Regions from separate parts of the Homo sapiens genome. Here region 2 is linked to region 1. The links are contacts of gene promoters, found by promoter capture Hi-C in human tissues and cell types (Jung and others, 2019). All regions are on one chromosome and are shown on one strand. The core of a region is centred on a gene start or on the middle of the fragment in contact, and the rest is flanking DNA. Distances in the headings are between cores, read along the strand shown. Region 1 holds the start of HIPK4 (homeodomain interacting protein kinase 4). Region 2 overlaps BLVRB (biliverdin reductase B).

Region 1 (6,163 bases), core at 3,271-5,770:
GTGCCCCAGCTTGAGCTGGACGTGGGGCTAAGCCGAGAGGCACAGGCGGGCGAGGCGGCCACAGGCGAGGGTGGGCTGAGGCTGAAGTTGCCCACACTGGGGGCCAGAGCTAGGGTGGGGGGCGAGGGTGCTGAGGAGCAGCCCCCAGGGGCCGAGCGTACCTTCTGCCTCTCACTGCCCGACGTGGAGCTCTCGCCATCCGGGGGCAACCATGCCGAGTACCAGGTGGCAGAGGGGGAGGGAGAGGCCGGACACAAGCTCAAGGTACGGCTGCCCCGGTTTGGCCTGGTGCGGGCCAAGGAGGGGGCCGAGGAGGGTGAGAAGGCCAAGAGCCCCAAACTCAGGCTGCCCCGAGTGGGCTTCAGCCAAAGTGAGATGGTCACTGGGGAAGGGTCCCCCAGCCCCGAGGAGGAGGAGGAGGAGGAGGAAGAGGGCAGTGGGGAAGGGGCCTCGGGTCGCCGGGGCCGGGTCCGGGTCCGCTTGCCACGTGTAGGCCTGGCGGCCCCTTCTAAAGCCTCTCGGGGGCAGGAGGGCGATGCAGCCCCCAAGTCCCCCGTCAGAGAGAAGTCACCCAAGTTCCGCTTCCCCAGGGTGTCCCTAAGCCCCAAGGCCCGGAGTGGGAGTGGGGACCAGGAAGAGGGTGGATTGCGGGTGCGGCTGCCCAGCGTGGGGTTTTCAGAGACAGGGGCTCCAGGCCCGGCCAGGATGGAGGGGGCTCAGGCTGCGGCTGTCTGAAGCCCCTAGTCAGATGGGGATCCCTTCTTGCCTTCCTTTCTCTACCCCCTCGCTGTTGTGTGTGTGATAACTAGCACTAACCCTAAGAGGGCCGGGAGGTGGGTGACTGACCAGGGCTGGCAGGGAGGCCTGCTCCTGTCTCTCTGGCAGGAGTGCCTGTACCCCACCAAGCCATGTGAATAAAATAATCTGGAAGTAGCCATGTATTTGTCTCCTCTGTGTGCATAGGGGGCAGGGAGGGGCAGGAGTGGGTATAGGGGAGATGCAGAGAAGGCAGTCTCCAAAGAGGAGGTTCTAGGGGTCGCCTGAGCCTGGCCTGAGGGGAACCTCTGGTGTGAGGGGAGAAACCGGTCATACCTGGTCTGAGAAGAGTCAGGGCGGGTTGGGCGCAGTGGCTCATGCCTGTAAGCCCAGCACTTGGGAGGCCAAAGCAGGAGGACTGCTTGAGCCCAGGAGTTTAAGACCAGCCTGGGAAACATAGGGAAACCTCATCCCTACAAAAAATACAAAAAATATCCAGGCATGGTGGCCCGTGCCTGTAATCCCAGCTACTCGGGGGGCTGAGGTGGGAGGATCACTTGAGCCCGGGAGGTCGAGGCTGCAGTGAGCCTTGATGGTGCCCCTGCACTCCAGCCTAGGCAACAGAGCCAGACTGTTTCAACAAAAACAAAAACAAAGACTCAGGATGGCCTTGGGACAGGCCGTGGTGGGAAGGGAGACGTCCCTAGCCCTTGAGAATTCCCAGGGGTTGTTAAAGAGGACTCTGGGATGTTCCCTGGCAGAGCACAGCTTCGGGACCCCTCTGCCAGGAAGCCTGCCTGTCCTGGGGGACCCACTCCTACCAGGCTGGTTGCTCCCCACCTGCCCTCTGCCGGTGAGGGCACTTCTGCACATCCTGGCCTTCTCTTTCCTGTCTGGCTGGTTTGACTGCCCTGTCCACTCTGGCCCCACCCAGGAAGGCTGCTCCTGGTCCCCTCAAAGCCTCTACCCCAGAAACACAGCCGCCTCTTGGAACTAGGTCCCAGGGTCCTCAGCACCTGTCAGTGCTGGTCTCAGCTCCCAGGGGCCATGGGCCATCCATCCCTGCCATCCCAATTCAGGATCTAAGTCCTGAGGCTCCCAGCAGGGCCTCCAGCCTCCTCCATGTCTCTCTGTGATGTCCCACACTGGACTAAGGAGACTCAATATCCAGTCCCAAGTCTCGCCCCGACAGCCCCCCACTCTCCTCACATCTCCCTATCCTGTCTCAGTGGATGAGGGGCCTGGCAGAATCCCCCACTCACTTGAGTACCTTGTCCCTTCCAGCCAGCCCTCCTCAGGTCACTGTCTCACCACACACTTTTTCTTTGCCCCCACCAAACATGGCAGGAGTTATCTACACTCACAGTGCACCCCCATTTCCAAGACCCCAGCATTTGGGGTTTTCCTCCTACCTTGTCTGTGTCAGCAGTGACCTCCCCGTGGCCACGCCTGAGGGTTTCCTTTGTCTCTCTTGTCCTGACTCTTCAAGGCCCCTTCGATCTTCCTGACACTTGCTCCTCTTCCCCACACCTCTCTCTCCCCGTGCTCCTTGGGCACCGGAGGTTCCTCCCGGGCCCTTGTCCACCCCCACACCCTCCCTAGGGTGCATCACCCTCCCCCATGGCTTCCACGCCTCCTCTCTGTGCTGACAACTCCCAAACTCTCTCCTGCATCCCCTTGGGGACCCAGCAGCTTCTGCACCCCTTCTCCAGAGGTCTCCTGGTTTTTAGGAGGTTGTGTGGGTGGTGGTTCAGAGTTTGGCGCTGGAGCCAGGCTGCTTAGGGTCAGAGGCTGTCTCTGGCAGTCACTTGAGTGACCTTAGGCATTTTATTTTATCATTTATTTATTTATTTTTATTTTTTGAGACAGAGTCTCACTCTGTTGCCCATGCTGGAGTGCAGTGGTGCAATCTTGGCTCACAGCAACCTCCGCCTTCCAGGTTCAAGCGATTCTCATACCTCAGCCTCCCGATCTCAGCCTCCCAAGTAGCTGGAACTACAGGTGTATACCACCATGCCCAGCTAATTTTTGTATTTTTAGTGGAGTTGAGGTTTTGTCATGTTGGCAAGGCTGGTCTCAAACTCCTGACCTCAGGTGATCCGCCCACCTTGGCCTCTCAAAGTGCTGGGATTACAGGCGTAAGCCACCACTCCTGGCCAGGCACTTTAAAAACTTCTTTGTGCCTTGATTTTCTCTTCCATAAAATCCCTACTTTGTATGTTGTAAGGATCAGATAAGACTTCTAAAGAACTTCATCCTTGTTTAAATGTTTTGATGTTACATTTTCTTTTACTTTTTTTTTTTTTTTTGAGACGGAGTTTCACTCTTGTTGCCCAGGCTGGAGTGCAATGGCGCAATCTTGGCTCACTGCAACCCCACCTCCCGCGTTCAAGCAGTTCTCATACCTCAGCCTGCCGACCTCAGCCTCTTGAGTAGCTGGGACTACAGGCATGTGCTAACACACCCGGCTAATTTTGTATTTTTAGTAGAGACGGGGTTTCTCCATGTTGGTCAGGCTGGTCTCGAACTCCCGACCTCAGGTGATCCACCTGCCTCAGCCTCCCAAAGTGCTGGGATTACAGGCATGAGCCACCGAGCCCGGCCCGCTGTTAAATATTCTAATCTGGCTGGAGTGGTGGCTCATGTCTACAATCCCAGCACTTTGGAAGGTTGAGGCAGGAGGATCACTTGAGGCCAGGAGGATCACTTGAGACCAGCCTGGACAACATAGTGAGACCCCATTTCTACAAAAAATTAAAAAGATAAATAAAAATGAACACTTTTTTTTTTTTTTTGAGATGGAGTCTCGCTCTGTCACCCAGGCTGGAGTGCAGTGGTGCAATCTCGGCTCACTGCAACCTCCACCTCCCGGGTTCAAGCTATTCTTCTGCCTTAGCCTCCCGAGTAGCTGGGACTACAGGCGCCCTCCACTATGCCTGGCTAATTTTTAGTATTTTTAGTAGAGACAGAGTTTCACCGTGTTAGCCAGGATGGTCTCGATCTCCTGACCTTATGATCTGCCTTCCTTGGCCTCCCAAAGTGCTGGGATTACAGGCGTGACCCACCGCACCCAGCCAAAAATAAATACATTTTCTAATTTGGCCTCAACATCTCCCCCAAGCTGCTTCTTATCCATGTCCATTTCTCGGGGACTGCCCCTTCATCCCAGAGCCCTAGGCCCGTTCTTAGACAGCTCCCGCCTTTCCCTCAAACCGTCGGTCTCACGGCTGCTTCTCCTGGCCTTTTGAGTGTCTCATCCATTGGCCTCGCCCTCTCCTCCCCAACCTCTCCCATCTGTGCCCTGTCCTGGACTCTTTCCCTGGCTTGGGGCTTCCACTCTTACCCGCTCCAACCTATCCCTTTTCATACAGTAACTTTCTGACACTCATATCTGACCCTGCCCTCCCCTGCTCAAAGCCCTTCTGTGGCTCCCCAGTGCCCTCAGAACAGAATCCAAACTCCTTAGCCTGGCATTCAGGGCCTTTTACAACCTCACCCCACAGTAGCCACAGACTGGGACAGGAGTTTTCTGAACACAGACACACACACATCACATCTCCCAAGCTCAAGAAGCCCACCTTTCCTCACTCCTGCCTTATCCCCATTCCTGTATGCCCAAGGCCCACGATTAGACCCCCCTCTGTCAACACTTCACCTGTTTGGTCTTTGCAAGATTCCGCCACTGGGCGGGGGAGGGGGCCCAGCCTGGTACCCCACCCCCACTCCAGCCAGGGCTCAGGTCTCCAACAACAGAACCAGAGCCACTCAACAGCGCTGGAACCCATTCGGTGGGGCCTGGGGCCCCTCATCCCAAGCCAGGAGGGTTTCTGGGGAGGGGTGCAGCCCCTGGCAGACTGACAGTGTGGCCTGGGGGTTTGGGGGTGCCAGGGAAGCAGGGGCCAACCTCATAGGAGGAGACACGAGTGCGGTTCTCTTTCCCCCACTGGGGGGCCTGCTGTGTCAGCAGCCAGGCGGGAGGCCTGGGCGGCAGAGCCAGTGGTACAGGGGCCTGGGCAGGGCGGTGTCTGGCAGCAGCGGCACCATGTCCACCATCCAGTCGGAGACTGACTGCTACGACATCATCGAGGTCTTGGGCAAGGGGACCTTCGGGGAGGTAGCCAAGGGCTGGCGGCGGAGCACGGGCGAGATGGTGGCCATCAAGATCCTCAAGAATGACGCCTACCGCAACCGCATCATCAAGAACGAGCTGAAGCTGCTGCACTGCATGCGAGGCCTAGACCCTGAAGAGGCCCACGTCATCCGCTTCCTTGAGTTCTTCCATGACGCCCTCAAGTTCTACCTGGTCTTTGAGCTGCTGGAGCAAAACCTTTTCGAGTTCCAGAAGGAGAACAACTTCGCGCCCCTCCCCGCCCGCCACATCCGTACAGTCACCCTGCAGGTGCTCACAGCCCTGGCCCGGCTCAAGGAGCTGGCTATCATCCACGCTGATCTCAAGCCTGAGAACATCATGCTGGTGGACCAGACCCGCTGCCCCTTCAGGGTCAAGGTGAGTAGGGGTCGTCTAGGGTGGCTGCGTCCCTAGTTCCTTGTCTTTTTCCCAGCTTCTTCCAGCCCTAGATTTTTTTTTTAATTTTTTAAAATTATTATTATTATTATTTTTGAGACGGAGTTTCATTCTGTTACCCAGGCTTGAGTGCAGTGGCACAATCTCAGCTCACTGCAACTCCGCCTCCTGGGTTCAAGTGATTATCCTGCCTCAGCCTCCCGAGTTGCTGGGATTACAGGGATGCGCCACCACGCCCAGCTAATTTTTTTTTTGTACTTATCAGAGACGGGGTGATGATGGCATGATCTTGGTTCACTGCCTCCGCCTCCCGGGTTCAAGCGATTCTCCTGCCTCAGCCTCCTGAGTAGCTGGGAATACAGGTGCCCGCCACCCATGCCCGGCTAATTTTTGTATTTTTAGTAGAGATGGAGTTTCGCCATGTTGGCCAGGCTGGTCTCAAACTCCTGACCTTGTGATCCACCTGCCTCAGCCTCCCAAAGTGCTGGGATTACAGGCGTGAGCCACCACGCCCAGCCAATTTTTGTGTTTTTTGGTAGAAACAGGATTTCATCATGTTGCCCAGGCTGGTCTCAAAGTCCTGAGTTCAAGCAATCTGCCCACCTTGGCCTCAACAAAGTGCTGGAATTACAAGTGTGAGCCACCATGCCCAGTCCTCTGTCTGCTTTTGAGTTTGATACTGTCTGGATGCTTCTGAACCAGGGGCACCCTGAGGGCAAGGCTGGGGCTGACTTAATCATCGCTGTGTCCCTGACATCTCCCAGCACTGCAGTCATGGAGCCAGTGCTAAATGAATGCTTGCCAGAGACACAGAGACAGAAAAAGGTGGATTATTCTGCCCCAAGAGGTGGAAGGACAGAGACCCAGGGAAGCAGGGACTTC
Region 2 (6,836 bases), core at 1,769-4,268, 65 kb before region 1:
TAGGCTGAGAGAGGTCAGGGTAGGCCTCCCAGAGGAAGTGATAGAGCTGTGGATAGACACTAGGTCTCTGCCCTCACAGAGCTCCCGATTATGGGGACACAGACATTAAGCAAATAGTTGCCCTGTATAATCATTTATTTATTTATTTATTTATTTATAGTTATTTTGAGGTTTGTTTGAGATAGAGTCTTGCTCTGATGCCCAGGCTGGAGTGCAGTGGCGTGATCTTGGCTCCCTGCAACCTCCGCCTCCCGGAGGTGGTTCTCCTGCCTCAAGTGATTCTCCTGCCTCTGCCTCCCAGGTAGCTGGGACTACAGGTGTGCACCACCATGCCCAGCTAATTTTTGTATTTTTAGTAGAGACAGGGTTTCGCCATGTTGGCCAGGCTAGTCTCGAACTCCTGACCTCAAGTGTGTTTCATGACACAAATTGCCTCCCTGGAAAGGGAAGTGGCATGAGGGAGGGCTGCCTGATGATTGTAATTACACTCCAGGCAGAGGACAAAGCAAGCAAAGAGGCCTGGAGGCCAGACCTAGTTGGAGGGTAGGAAGCAAAATCATTTATGGCTTTTTTCCTCAAGCTCTGAAATGGAAAAGTAATACACGAGTAAACTTGCGATTTCAGAATGGTTCACTTTTTTTTTTTTTTTTTGAGACTTTCTGTCACCCAGGCTGGAGTGCAGTGGTGCAACCATGGCTCACTGCAGCCTCAGTCTGGGTTCAAGTGATCCTCCCCACTGCAGCCTCCCAAGCGGCTGGGACTACAGGCATGCACCACCACACCTGGCTAATTTTTTGATATTTTTGTAGAGACAAGGTCTTACTTTTGTTCGCAGATTGGAATGGTCTGCTGTTAATTTTAGTTTTGTTTTTTTCTCCCATGTCTTTTTTTCTTTGAGATGAAGTCTGACTCCATTGCCCAGGCTGGAGTGCAGTGGCGTGGTATCAGCTCACTGCAACCGCCACTCCACCTCCCGGGTTCATGGTGCCTGGGACCAAGATCGTGGCCCACAGTGATTCTCCTGCCCCAGCCTCCTGAGTAGCTGGGATTACCGGCGCCTGCCACCATGCCCTGCTAATTTTTGTATTTTTGGTAGAGACAAGGTTTTGCCATGTTGGCCAGGCTGATGTTGAACTCCTGGCCTCAAGCAGTCCTCCCACCTCAGCCTTCCAAAGTGCTGAGATTACAGGTATAAGCCACCACGTCCAGACTCTCCCATGTCTTAAAAACCAATTTAACTGGTTAAGTTTTGCTTCCATGAAAAAGACAAACCTGTAAAATTGATTTAATTTGCTTTCTTTTTTCTCATTTTTTTTTGTTTAGATTGTTTTCTAAATATTAAAGTCTTAGGTGTGCCAGGATTTTTTTTTTCATTAAAAAAAAAACAAACATAGAGACAAGGTCTCGCTCTGTCACCCAGGCTGGAGTGCAGTGGCCTGATCATAGCTCATTGTACCCTTGAACCCCTGGGCTCAAGGAATCCCCTCACTTTAGCCCCTCAAATAGCTGGGGCAACAGGTATGAGCCATTGAGTCCAGCTTAACTTTTTATCTGGAAATGATCTTAAACTTACAGAAAAATTGAAAGGACACCAGTACACCTACCGTCCTCTGTTCACAGACACACAATGTTTTTTTTCTGACCCATTTGAAGTTAGCTTACATACATCATGGCTGCTTACTTCAATGTGTAGGTCCTCAATATACTTTTTAACTTTTTATTATAAAAATTTTTAAACAGAAAAGTTAATAGTCGTGTGAACAACCATATTCCTTTTCTTTTTTTATTTTTAAGTTTGTAGCTATCTATCTATTTATTTATTTATTTTGAGACCGGGTTATAAGGCTGGCTAATTTTTGTATTTTTGGTAGAGATAGAGTTTCGCCATGTTGCCCAGGCTGGTCCCGAACTCCCGGACTCAAGCGATCCACCAGCCTCAGCCTCCCAAAGTGCTGGGATTACACCTGAGCCACTGCACCTGGCCAACAGCCATATTCCTGATTTTAAAATTGTGATTGTGTTTTGTAATTGGTTTATCTATGCACATACACATACACAAATAGATTTTGTTTTTGTTCTCCTAAACTATTTGGGTTTTTTGTTTGTTTGTTTTTATTTGAGACAGAGTCTCATTCTGTCACCCAGGCCGGAATACAGTGGCGTGATCTTGGCTCACTGCAACATCCACCTCCTGGGTTCAAGGGATTCTCCTGCCTCAGCCTCCTGAGTAGCTGGGATTACAGGTGCCTGCCACCACATCTGGTTAATTTTGTGTGTGTGTATTTTTAGTATAGATGGGGTTTCACCATATTGGGCAGGCTGGTCTGACCTCAAGTGATCTGGCCTCCCAAAGTGCTGGATTACAGGCATGAGCCACTGCGCCCAGACTTCCTAAACTATTTGAAATGGAGTTGCACACCCACAGACACCTTCGGCAAGTCCCAAGAAAAAGGACTTTTCTCTTCCAGCACCACAGTGCTATTGTCACACTTTAATTATCTTCCAGCCTCTAATTATTAGAGTTTAATCTTCCCTCCATATTCAAATGTCAAGGTAAAAGATTAGAAAGATTTTTGTCATCTAAGGAGCTTGGAGTTTATCCATTAGGGCTTGGGGAGGATTGTTTTTTATGGAGGCATCTGAGAGGATTAGAAAGAAACCCAGAGTAAGGCCAGGCACAGTGGCTCACGCCTGTAATCCTAGCACTTTGAGAGGCCAAGGTGGGCGGATTGCTTGCGTCCAGGAGTGCAGGACCAGTCTGGGCAACACAGCAAAACTCCATCTCTACAAAAAAAAAATACAAAAAATTAGCTGGGTGTGGTGGTACACACCTGTGGTCCCCAATACTTGGGAAGCTTAGGTAGGAGGATCCTTTGAGCCTAGAAGGCAGAGGTTGCAGTGAGCCGTGATGGCACCACTGCACTCCAGCCTTGGCTGCAGAGCAAGACCCTGTCTCAAAACACAACAAAACAGCCGGGTGCTGTGGCTCACGCCTGTAATCCCAGCACTTTGGGAGGCCAAGGTGGGTGGATCACGAGGTCAGGAGATTGAGACCATCCTGGCTAACACAGTGAAACACCGTCTCTACTAAAAATACAAAAAATTAGCCAGGCGTGGCGGCGGGTGCCTATAGTCCCAGCTACTCGGGAGGCTGAGGCAGGAGAATGGCGTAAACCCGGGAGGAGGAGCTTGCAGTGAGCTGAGATCGTGCCACTGCACTCCAGCCTGGGTGACAGAGCGAGACTGCCTCAAAAAAAAAAAGAAAAAAGAAACTAGGGGTAAGTTAGAGACTGGATTTGAGATTGTGAACTGGAGACTGGAGGCTGCAGACAAAAACCCACTTCACACTCTGCACCGCAGTTTTCTCATCTGTAAAGAGGAAATCCTAGACCAGGCGCAGTGGCTCACGCTGTAATCCCAGCACTTTAGGAGGCTAAGGCAGGTGGATCGCTTGAGGTCAGGAGTTCGAGACCAGCCTGGCCAACATGGTGAAACCCCGTCTCTACCAAAAATACAAAAACTAGCCAGGTGTGGTGGCACACGCCTGTAATCCCAGCTACTCAGGAGGCTTAGGCAGGAGAATCACTTGAAACTTGTAGGTGGAGGTTGCAGTGAGAATGATGTCATCATAGCTCGCTACCGCCTCCAACTCCTAGGCTCAAGGGATCCTCCTGAGTAGCTGAGACCACAGGCATGTGCCACCATGCCCATCTAATTTTTAAAATTTTTTTGTTGCGACAGAGTCTGGCTTTGTTGCCCAGGCTGGTCTCTGTGACACACCTTTTTATAACCACTAACATTACTCAAACTATTTATTTATTTCTTTTTGTTGAGACAAGGTCTTGCTCTGTTGTCCAGGCTGGAGTGCAGCGGTGCAATCACAGCTCACTGCAGCCTCGAACTCCTGAGCTCAAGCGATCCTCTCGCCTCAGCCTTCTAAGCAGCTAAGACCACAGGTCCCCACGCCTGGCTAATTTTTTAATTTTCTGTAGAGACAGGTCTCACCATCGTACCCAGGTGAGTCTAGAACTGCTGGGCTCAACTGATCCTCCTACCTCAGCCTCCCAAAGTGCTGGGATTACAGGTGTGAGCCACTCTGCCCAGCCTTTGAACAATTTATATCATCCCAGTTTGCACATGAGGAAACAAGAAGCTGGCCAGTGGTCGATCCAGTACTTGACTTTAGGCAAAACCCAAGCTCTTTAACTATTCACCAAACTGCTCCTAAAAATATTTAGCATAGTTCTTGGCTTGAGGTAAAAGTTCTATAAATGTCAGCTGGTGTAGCTTGGCCAAGTTATAGCTTGTTGAAAGCTAATTCCTGAACAAATATTTAGTAAGTACCTACAATGTTCCAGATGCTTCTAAGGGCTGGGATTGGAGCAGGAAATGTGATAGAGTCACAGGATAACTCTAGCGTGTGGTGGCAGGGGAAGGGTCCTAGGGAGAAAACAAGGCCCCAAGAAAAGGGATTGGTAAACTGGGCTGGGGGAGACAGGATTTTGCAATTTTAAACAGGACAGTCAAGAAAAGCTGCATGGAAAGGTGACCTTTGAGCAAAGTCTGCAAAGAAAACAGGGAGCCATGTGGCTACGAGAGGGAAATGGCAAAGGGTCCTGGGTCACACCTGTAATCGCAGCATTTTAGGAGGTCGAGATGGAAGGATCGCTTAAGCCCGGGAGTTCAAAACTAGCCTGGGCAACTTGGTAAGACCTCCATCGCTACAAAAAAAATGTTTTTTTCTTTTTCTTTTGAGACGGAGTCTTGCTCTGTCACCCAGGCTGGAGTGCAATGGCACGATCTCGGCTCACTGCAACCTCTGCCTCCCAGGTTCAAGGGATTCTCCTGCCTCAGCTTCCTGAGAATAGCTGGGATTACAGGCATGCACCACGACACCTGGCTAATTTTTGTGTTTTTTTTGTTTTGTTTTGTTTTGTTCTGCTTTGTTTTTGAGATGGAGTCTTGCTCTGTCTCCCAAGCTGGAGTGCCGTGGCGCGATCTCAGCTCACTGCAACCTCCGCCTCAAGGGTTCCAGCAATTCTCCAGCTTCAGCCTCCTGAGTAGCTAGGACTACAGGCATGCACCACCATGCCCAGCTAACTTTTGTATTTTTACTAGAGATGGGGTTTCACCATGTTGGCCAGGCTGGTCTCGAACTCCTAACCTCAGGCGATCTGGCCTCCTCAGTCTCCCAAAGTGCTGGGATTACAGGGGTTAGCCACCAGACCCGGCCTAAAAAAATTTTTTAAATTAGCCAGGCTTGGCCGGTATCATGCCATTGCACTGCAGCCTGGGTGGCAAGAGGGAAGGAAACTCTGTCTCAAAAAAAAAAAAAAATAGTGGGGTTTGGTGGCTCACCCCTGTGGTCCCAGCTCCTCAGGAGGCTAAGGCAGGAGGATCACTTCAGCCCAGAAAGTCAAGGCTGCAGTGAGCCGTGTTCACGCCACTGTCCTCCAGCCTGGACAACAGAATGAGACCCTGTCTCAGAGAAAATAAAAAAGAGAGGGAAATGCATCAGGGGCAGAGGAATCAGACATTGCCAAGGCTGGGAGGCAGAACCTGGCTGGAGCAGAGGCGTGTAAGAGAGAGTGGTAGGCAGAGTAGGCAAGGACGTCAGAGGGCTGATGGGGCCATATCAGGTGGGGCCTTGAGGGCTGGCCATGGGGACTTTGCTTCTACCCTGAGTGAGATGGAGCTATGGATGTGAACTGATAGGGGTGTTCACGGGCTCCTTGGGAGGAGGGAAGGAGGGGCTGAGAGACCAGGGAGTAGGCTGCTGGGCTGGTCCAGGCAAGAGGTAACAGTGGACAGGACCAGGCGGAGTGAGAAGAGGTCAGATTTGGAATTATTGTGATCAGCAGACAGCTCTTACCTGGGGTGTGAGGGAAAGAGGAGCCCCAGAGGACTCCCCTGTTTTTGCAACTGGAAAGCAATGGTCAGCCATGGCAGGGTTTTGTCCTGGCATCAAGACAAGCGAGCCCTTGGCTGGGCACAATGGCTCATGCCTGTAATTCCAGCACTTTGGGAGGTGGAGGAGGGTGGATCACCTGAGGTCAGGAGTTTGAGACCAGCCTGGCCAACATGGCAAAACCCTGTCTGTACTAAAAATACAAAAATTAGTCAGGCCTGGTGGTGTGCACCTGTAATCCCAGCTACTGGGGAGGCTGAGGCAGGAGAATTGCTTGAACCCGGGAGGCAGAGGTTGCAGTGAGCCGAGATTGCGCCACTGCACTCAGCCTGGGTGACAAAGCGACACTCTGTCTCAAAAAAAAAAAAAAAAAGACAAGAGAGCCCAGGCTGATCCTGCCCTGTGTTCCCTCCAGCTTTCCTGCTCTGGGACCCTACCAAGGTGCCCCCACGACTGCAGGCTGTGACTGATGACCACATCCGGATGCACAAGGTGCTGCGGGAATCAGGCCTGAAGTACGTGGCTGTGATGCCGCCACACATAGGTAAGCAGGGCAGGGACCTGGTGGCACCAATGCCATCTGCCTGTTCCCTCCTGCCCTCTGGGGAGATCTGCAAGGCCTTCCCTGACCACCCTAAAATTGCAAACCTTCCTATGATATTGTGACATATATATTTGGCCTTTGTCCCTGTTTCCTGGCATACAACTCCTAAAATCCTTGGAATCTCCAAAATGGTAAATGTCTTTTTCTATGCTAATGAGTTCACTGAGAGCTGGCAGCCCCTAGGCAGCTTCAGGTCTGGTCACCAGAAAGACTAAGGCTGGATTACAGGGTTGGGACTTTCACCTCTGGGGAGTGGTGAGGGATTGAAGGTTGAGGGGATTACCACTGGCTAATGGTTTAATCCATTATGTCTATGGATTCTGG

Evidence for each region. The method cuts DNA at HindIII sites, captures the fragments that hold promoters and counts their contacts. A contact is called where the count stands out against the background at its distance.
Region 2: a fragment that was not itself captured here is called in contact with the fragment with the promoter of HIPK4 in region 1 in 9 of the 25 tissues and cell types used here (IMR-90 fibroblasts, bladder, dorsolateral prefrontal cortex and 6 more).

What each region holds. Positions count from the first base shown.
Region 1 is chr19:40,388,538-40,394,700 of GRCh38, reverse strand. It overlaps HIPK4 (homeodomain interacting protein kinase 4), which reads left to right and starts at 4,520. Exons shown (of 4, transcript NM_144685.5): 1 at 4,520-5,263. The coding sequence starts at 4,799. PRX (periaxin) reads left to right here. Exons shown (of 7, transcript NM_181882.3): 7 at 1-933. The coding sequence ends at 735. RefSeq lists enhancers at 4,068-4,617, 4,618-5,167. The HindIII fragment of the contact is 19,093 bases long and covers 1-6,163 here.
Region 2 is chr19:40,450,980-40,457,815 of GRCh38, reverse strand. BLVRB (biliverdin reductase B) reads left to right here. Exons shown (of 5, transcript NM_000713.3): 4 at 6,324-6,452. Among named protein-coding and RNA genes, the nearest start is that of SERTAD3-AS1, 9.9 kb to the right of the region's middle. The HindIII fragment of the contact is 7,951 bases long and covers 1-6,836 here.